Regions from separate parts of the Homo sapiens genome. Here region 1 is linked to region 2. Evidence: promoter capture Hi-C in 16 types of primary human blood cells and fetal thymus (Javierre and others, 2016). All regions are on one chromosome and are shown on one strand. The core of a region is centred on a gene start or on the middle of the fragment in contact, and the rest is flanking DNA. Distances in the headings are between cores, read along the strand shown. Region 1 has its middle 90 kb from the start of PLSCR4. Region 2 holds the start of PLSCR5 (phospholipid scramblase family member 5).

What was found. The method cuts DNA at HindIII sites, captures the fragments that hold promoters and counts their contacts. A CHiCAGO score of 5 or more calls a contact.
Region 1: a fragment that was not itself captured here is called in contact with the fragment with the promoter of PLSCR5 in region 2 in 1 of 17 cell types (monocytes); the score reaches 5.2 in monocytes.

Annotation. Positions count from the first base shown.
Region 1 is chr3:146,338,997-146,343,767 of GRCh38, reverse strand. It overlaps the pseudogene PLSCR4P1. Among named protein-coding and RNA genes, the nearest start is that of PLSCR4, 90 kb to the right of the region's middle. The HindIII fragment of the contact is 3,805 bases long and covers 993-4,771 here.
Region 2 is chr3:146,602,706-146,607,009 of GRCh38, reverse strand. PLSCR5 (phospholipid scramblase family member 5) reads left to right here and starts at 1,664. Exons shown (of 8, transcript NM_001085420.2): 1 at 1,664-1,810. The coding sequence starts at 1,798. The HindIII fragment of the contact is 8,012 bases long and covers 1-3,634 here.

The DNA.
Region 1 (4,771 bases), core at 1,646-4,145, 260 kb after region 2:
GTAAACATGAAGCCTAACATCTGTTCATCAATAGAGTGTGGCTGATTCTTAAAGCAGCAGCTTTACACATTCATTTAGCAACATAAGGTCTTCAACTCCTCTTGGTTACTTTTTCTATTTGCAATTAGTAGTGACCCTGATCATCTTACTGAGCTATTTGCAATTAGTAGTGACCCTGATCATCTTACTGAGCTGGATAATTTATGCTCTAATGTATAAAATAATTAAAATATTTTATAATTAAAGTCTCTGAATGCAGTTAATATATAAGACATAATCATCCTTATACAAGATGACTTTTATCTTTTACATGGAAAACTCTTAAATCATCTTGCACTGAATTTAAAATAGACACTTTAAATTCTAAAGCATATTAATACTTATAAGGTGATGAAATAGTTTGGTGTTCCCATCAGTTGTTTATGTTTCAAATGAAATTTTTAAAAGGCTATTTGGCCTTACACCCTGTGAAATGATTGATGATGACCTCTTGAGGGCAGACTTAACAGCTAATAATTTAAAGATGACTTTCTCATTTTATTTTCTAGTGATGACACATTTTGAAACTAATAATAGAAATGATGTTAAAAACAACTCAGACCAGATGGTTTTCATCATAACTGAAGACACACATATCTTTACCAGGAATGTGTATTGGACATTAAGGCCCTTCATCCTCCAGATCACTGAATGCATGGGCTGAAAAGTCATGACCATACAGAGACCTTTCAGATGTACCTGCTGTTGCCCCTCTGCCAGGCAAGAGGTCAAACAATGAATGTCCAATCCACAGTTTCCTTCTGATTCAACTTTTCACAGCAGTTTGCTCCTTCCATACAAAAGGGATTTTCCCTGGCTCATCCAGTCAGAATGGGAGAAGGTAGTGGAGAGGCAGGAAACCAAATTATCTCACCTAAGGAAAATCACAGAGACCTTTTTCATGTGGGTTATTGCTCTTTAGTGCTAATCGGTGGGTCAAGCACAATTAAGCTTGTTTAGTCAATAATCATGATTCCGTCAGTTGCATCTATGCAATTAGAAATTTACCTTTCACATAGAATAGTCACATACATTTATCTAAATATACCTACATATTACCAGGTAAGGTAATGCTAAACATAAACATATGCTTTTAGAATTGGAAGGGACTTCAGATACCTTTATACTACTCATCACAACCCACACCTTTCTGTTTTTTGTTTTTTGTTTCTTTTGAGACAGAGTCTTACTCTGTCACCCAGGCTGGAGTGCAGTGGCACGATCTCAGCTCACTGCAACCTCCGCCTCCCGGGTTCAAGCGATTCTCCTGCCTCAGTCTCCCGAGTAGCTGGGACTACAGGCACACGTCACCACACCTGGCTTATTTTTGTATTTTTAGTAGAGACAGGGTTTCATCATATTGGTCAGGCTGGTCTCGAACTCCTGACTTTGTGATCCACCCGCCTTGGCCTCCCAAAGTGCTGGGATTACAGGTGTGAGCCACCGTGCCTGGCCCCACAACCCACACCTTTCTACAGAGAAAGAAAGAGTGGCTGAAAACGATTAAGTGCCTGAGAAGGTATTACACTTGACTGTGCCAGAATTTCAATGGAGATGTGCTGCATTACAAGCTGGTTACTCTTATATAACCTGCATCATTCTAGGAACATCTTTTACCATAGTAAAAAGAAAAGCGGTTTTGGAGCAGCCAACCAGAGTTTAAATTCTAGATATGACACCTACTTAAATTTGTACAATTTACTTAACCGATTTGGGCTTCAATCTTCTGGTACATAAAATATGCATAACAATACCCCATAGGTTTACTGGGATATTAAAAGACATATTAAGTACCAGTATTTACTAATCTCAATGTATTACAATATCCTCTTTTCTTTGATTTCCTCCATTGTAAAATAGAGATGATATAGTACATATCACATAGGAGTTTTTGAGATTTAAGTAGTAAATTAATGTTACATGCTTAGGACAGCACCTGGCAGATAGTCTAGTACTCAAAGAACGTTAGTTGTTGTTCTTAGATATCTTACTCCCCTATCATTATGTTTTAATCATAACAGCCTTATATTTGAGATGAATCTTCACCTGTATCCTTCATTCTTTTAACTATACTAGGAATTTTTCTTCATATTCATGACTTGCATTGTCTTCTCAAATCCTTTTAGTGCAGCCTTCCAAATTAAAAAAGCTATGATGCAGAAAAGATAATCAAAATTACAAACTTACCCAATTTATAGAACATTTATCTCAAATATTATTCAGATTTTATTCTTATTTCTTCAGTTTTACTTGTATTCATGTTTGACTGTGTATATTTAGTTCTGTGTAATTTCAGCAGCCGTTCAGATTTCTGCATCCACCACCACAACACAGATAACCTGGTGAGGCAAGCTGATGTCCTAACCCTGTTTTCCTAGTTGCCATGAGTGGGCTGGTGGTCAGAGTCAACTGATGTCTAAGTGAGGGGTAGGAAATGTTCTAGGGCTGGGATAAGCATGATGCACCATTTCTGAGGTAAAAGCCGTATTCACTTCACTCAATCATGTATATATGTTAGAATATATATTCAAATGACATGTTCTGAATTCTGAGGAATCAAACTATGTGTACAGCAACATAAACATATTTATAAAGTAAATAATTTACTTTGAAAACCTACATATAAGAACAAAGAGTAAACAGTAAATTTCTCAAAACATATACTGTAATTAGTTAGCTTAATGTTTGCACATTAAATTTTACCATAGATCTTAGTTTTGCTGCTTCTTAGCAAAAAAGCCAGTAATGTGAAATCATGTAATTTTGAGATGTGTCTAGCTTGGTTTACCTGAAGATTTAATTCCTTGCCAGATGGATATGTATCTGGGCATGTATGAAGAAAAATCTACCTAATTATGAGATAGGTGAGATAATATGACCAGTTATATATAATAGTAATGATAATGGTGATGCTGATAATTATAAGAACAACTGTCCCTTTTTATTACTTCCTACATTGCCGGCGTGGTTCTGGTTCTGACTACTTTTTGTATATTAACTCATTTAATTCTCGTAGCAAGCCTATGAGATGTATTACTGTGATAATTCCCATTGTAGAGGTGAGAAGACTAGATGAGGTATTTTGCATGAGGACCACTCAGTTATCTATCTATTTATAAAGCTATCTATATTTCTGTTTGAAGCCAGCCCTAGATGCTACACCCTAAACCATTATGCCATGTTACTCTTTTATCTCTGTGTGATATTTGGTTTCTCTATGTATTAATATTAACACAGATGGCCGGACATGGTGGCTCATGCCTGTAATCCTAGCACTTTAGGAGGCCAAGGCGGGTGGATCACCTGAGGTCAGGAGTTTGAGACCAGCCTGACCAACATGATGAAACCCCATCTCTACTAAAAATACAAAAATTAGCTGGGCATGGTGGTGCATGCTTGTAATCCCAGCTACTTGGGAGACTGAGGCAGGAGAACTGCTTGAACCGGGGAGGCAGAAAGTGCAGTGAGCCAAGAATGTGCCATTGCACTCCAGCCTGGGCAACAAGAGTGAAATTCCATCTCAAAAAAATAAAAAAATTTAAAAATATATATTAACACAGACATACAGGGGAATGAAAATACAGAAAAATTGTACATAAGAAATTATAAACAGGAGATTTCTGTATACAAGATTTGTATACAATTATATACAGAAATTATATAGAGGAAATCATATTCAGGAAAATTCATGTGTTTTCAAGTTTGGGATTATTGCTGGAAGCTCATGAGGCTCCAAGCAGGTCTTGTCTGAGAGTGTGCTCTCTTCAGAGAGGTTTGCTTTTGCTTCTGCTGGTGCCCCAGCAGTGTTACCAACTGAAGATTATTTTTATTTATATTTTTAGGTTTTTGTTTTTCAAGTCTGTATGTATTTCAAATATGAACCCCTAAATGATGAGGACAAGACTTGATTATTGTGAGAAACACGCTCACCCATCCAAACCCGAAGAATGGACTCAGAAGCACAAAGAATAGCAAAAGTAAGAGTTTTAATAACGGTCTTGCAAGATCGAGTGGTAGGCAGGCACATCCGGGGCAACTACAGCAACTAATTTATCTCCTAGCATGCAAGTCCCTCCCCCAGTTCCTCACTGGTCAATTACTATGGGGTTATAATCTTCCCAGATGTCACCAAAGTTTTATTATCCCCCTTATAAGGTTATACCCCAGTCCCCTTCCCTGCTTAAGTTGTGATTTCCCAATAACGAAACTTTCTTCCCTTTTATGGGCTGACCCCGCCTCAACATTCTGTTCATTTATCATGACTTTCTAATAGCAGAAGCCATGCACTTTTTTACGTCCGCAGGCTGGCTGCCAGTGCTAGATTTATCATGCCTTGAAAATGGACCATTTAAAATATTTTCTCTCAAATTCTCTCTGCTTTTCTATTTACTTCCTCTGGTCTCATTTTCATCTAAATCCTCCTGGTCCTAGAATCACTCTAGAAGCCATTTACTTTCTTCTTCATAGGAGAGTGAGTTTAATTTAGTTTCTAATAGTAGAAAGTTATTTTGCTGGTAAGTCATGGGCATTTGCTTATTAATAGGTGTTTCAAGTAATCTCTGTGCTAGTCCCCTTACACAGGGATAATACATCATCCCACTTCTGTTAAGATTCCTGCCACAATTATGAGAGATGTAAGGATTGAAGCACCATGCTTTCCATTTTCCAAATCGACTTTCTGGCCAACCCATAAATGGGTCACCAATTCCAGCATTTTCTGCGAGTTTGTTGG
Region 2 (4,304 bases), core at 415-2,914:
TAGATTCTGGACATTAGCCCTTTGTCAGATGAGTAGATTGCAAAAATTTTCTCCCATCCTGTAGGTTGCCTGTTCACTCTGATGGTAGTTCCTTTTGCTGAGCAAAGACACATGCACACGTATGTTTATTGCGCACTACTCACAATACAAAGACTTGGAACCAACCCAAATGTCCAACAATGATAGACTGGATTAAGAAAATGTGGCACATATGCACCATGGAATACTATGCAGCCATAAAAAATGATGAGTACATGTCCTTTGTAGGGATATGGATGAAGCTGGAAACCATCATTCTCAGCAAACTATCGCAAGGACCGAAAACCAAACATCGCATGTTCTCACTCACAGGTGGGAATTGAACAGTGAGAACACATGGACACAGGAAGGGGAACATCACACACCGGGGCCTGTTGTGGGGTGGGGGGAGAGGGGAGGGATAGCATTAGGAGATGTACCTAATGTAAATGATGAGTTAATGGGTGCAGCACACCAACATGGCAGATGTATACATATGTAACAAACCTGCACGTTGTGCACATGTACCGTAGAACTTAGAGTATAATAAAAAAAATTTTTTTAATCTTCTTTGATAGTGTTAATAACTTAATTTTTTGTATTAAAGTTTTTCTAAATGCTCACGACAAACATTAGAAAAAACTTAGGAAACATACAGTTTAATTTAAAAATATTAATCATATTCACACATCTTTTCTGCAAAACGACAACTTAAATAATGGTAGCTTTTTTCAACTCCAAACACTAAGAAAACTACAACAACAAAACCACTCCTCTTTGTCAAATAAGGAAAACTCAAACTTTTGGCAGTCTGCAAACTGTGAGGTTGACTTTATAATTTTTCATCACAAGGTATACCTCCTGAAGCCTCTTAACTATTTTCAGAAAAAGACAGTGTTGCTGATAATGCAATATATCCTGCATGTTCAACCTTTGTGAATCATACCATGTAGGGCAATTGACTTGGTGAGCAAAATCTCCATGGTCACCTGGGTAGCTGCATTTAGAAATAGGAGCTGTCCAGTCAAGGTTACAGCACTTGTTTTCTTTCCTTAGAATTCAATGCAGTTAAATATCATCTGTAAATTTTGATTAGCTTTGCAAGGCTATTGAAGGTTTGTATATTCCAATGCCTCTGATTAATCAAATTCAATTAAAAATGAAAATAAAGATTTATTTATATAATAGTAGGGAATATATCCTCTTCTTATTTATTTTGAGTTGAAGAGATGGAGATAAATCCAATAGAAAAATAACAATAATAATGTTCAAACATTTTCAACATGTAAAGAATTGTATTTAGAACTATCAAAAATTTATACAATAGGATGTTTTATCACAGAATCTGGAAAGGAGACTTCTAGAAATTGAGAAATACAGGATATTTCTGATATAAGACTGAATGCAAATGTGTATATTCTAAGAAATACAAAAACAACTTGGTAAAAAAAAAAAAGACACTTAAAATGAGTGCTGTGTGCTTTCCTTTCTGGTTTTTATTATTTTTAAATTGTTCCTTCAGCCACCAAAGTTATATGATGGTTTCTGAACAGCGTTTACTTTTGTGACAGTTTCATCTCACTCTGTTGTCCAAACTGATAAAGTCCAGAAGTCTAGAAACAGCAAGGGACTCCCTTCCTCTGTTATATGTAAGCTGACAAGAGGCAGACAAACACGTTCTGAAGTTTTGTGCATGCTGCGTTTTCTCTCCTTGCTGCAACAAGAAAAGCCTTTGTTTTCCAACCTGGCAACCTTTGAAGAAGTGACTCAGACATCTTCATGGCCTCTAAAGGTAAGAGTAAATATAACCAACTAATAACTTTTTCTTATATTAAGACTAAAAATATACAATTGTGGATGTGTTACAACCAGTTAGATTGGTACTTTAAAAGCTGTCATTTGTCACTTTTGAACATTGTGATTTTAAAATCTTAACTCCCAGGAGCATGTTGAGTTACATGTAAAAACACTTTATCTGACAGACTGTAAAAGTTCAGATGTAAACGATGTTTTAGTTATCATGAATACAAACATAGTGAATTAATAAGAAAAGCTGCATAGCAAAGTTTAGAATGGGAATCTTCAATGTTAAACACAAGGACAGGGTGATATTTTAAGTTTAAAAGGATTTGAAGAAAACTTTTCACACATAAGTTAGAAAGTGTTAAAGTGCAATTTAATAATTTTTTTAATTAAAATATTAAAAATTTATGTGGGTACATAGTAGGTATATATACTTATGGGATACATGAGATGTCTTCATACAAGCAGGCAATGTGAATTAAGGACATAAAGGGGAATGGGATATCCATCCCATCAAGCATTCAGCCTTTGAGTTACAGACAATCCAGTTACACTCTCTAAGTTTTATTTTCCCATTTGTTATTCAAATTATGTGATATAGCCATTTATTATAAAGAATCTGACATGCGTTATTATTGATTCTTAAATGTGATGGGCTAGAAATAAGTATTTCTGAATTATAAAGCAAAAATATCTTGAAATTTCCTTATGGTAAATTAAAGATAGAAAACAAACAGAAAATATCTGCTTTAAGCGCACAGATCACTTAGCAGACTTTTGGGGAGTAGGACTGATGAGTTTTTTCTCAAATTCCTAAAACTGCAAAAATATCATTACGTTATCTTACTTTAAAGAAGGTCTAAAAAGACAAGAGATGTAGTTGTTTTTAAAGTAAGTTGCAATCTCACTAAAAACACTTGTGAAACTGTGTAAGAAATAAAATTATAATGTGCTTTCATTTCATTGTCAGAATGAACCACTAAAGCCTAGGCTATAATGAAAAGTTTTAGCATGAAGAATTATAATTAGTATAATTGGTGAAAACCTTTTAAATTAATTACAAATAGGATAATAGGGCTCATCAATTTGTAATATCCTAAATTAGTGATCCATTCAAACAAATGTGTATGCTTACTTGCTTCCTTTATCAAAACACACTTTTGGTCACTATTTAATATGAAACAAATGAGATAATCTTTCCATTTTTTATCAATCTTTAATGTAGACCAGTCCCTCAGTCCCTCAGAATCACTGAGAAAGCTCACACAAATTGTAAAACATAGATGTGAAATAGCAAAATCATGAATTTAACATATGTGTCATTTTTTTCTATCTGAAGACAAATAAACAAAAAACCTTGACAAATATTTCCTTTCATTTAAGACTGACACTACTATTTAGTCCAAAATACTTCATCACTTTATAAAATAAGAGTTACAGCAATACTGTAGACTGTAAGGTAAAAAGTTGCAGAGTGTATAAAATATTTATAAGCTAGTTATACATTTTTAAAAGAGTAGATAGAAATTCAAAGCCAGTACGAAATTCAAAGGAGTTCCTTCTTCATCTGGTTGTCTGAGTCTTTGAAGAAACTTGTGACTGGAAAGTAATATTATGTCAAAATATGATTAATCTAACAGGAAGCAGTGATGTTCCATAATGATAAAGACCCAAGTCTAAACTTAGAAGCAAAACTTCAGGTGGAAAACTGACCCTCCTTCTGCAACCGGCTCAAAATATTTAATGCATGGAAGGATAAAACACCTATTAGAGACTTCATACTACCTAGGAGAATATAAGTGATAATGAAGCTTTCTTGTGAATTAGATATCTTGTTTAAGAGGGCAAGTCAAATTATCACCATTATCTAAGTAAAACATTTTTGTGGATAGTTTTCTTCAGCTGTATATAAACACATTATTTATAACATCATGTTTTCTTGTCCAGTAACTATATTGGCAATTAGCATTTTCCCAGGGAATGCAGACTAATTGTACATTTCACATATTTCATAGGCAGATCAATCAGCACTACTAAACCAAAAGACAGTCTAAATACCAGGTGCCATTAGAACTGAAGAGACATTTGTGTGAGCTGGAGCATCCTGGCTTAGTAGAAATTAACACAATTTAAGAGCAAGTTGCTCTCAAACACGGTGATCTGAACTGAGCAAGAGCTGTCTCCAAAGGTTGCTTCAATGTGAACTAAAATCCCAGAAGAAGCAGCTAGTGATCTCAGAATAGTGATGTCTCTCAACAGTCTCAGGCAGAGACTCACTCACACTCTACTCCTAAATAAAGACTTTGGACACAATATCCTCTGAGCTCCAAGTGCATTAATGCTTCTGGACTTGCTGTGAAGTCTAAGGCCCTCCAGGACTGGGCGGGAATGTACAGCTACTTGCCAAACCCTCCATAACCTACTGCATTTTGTTACAGCAAACATAATTTACAAGATAAAATTGGGGTAATTTGTGAATCCCT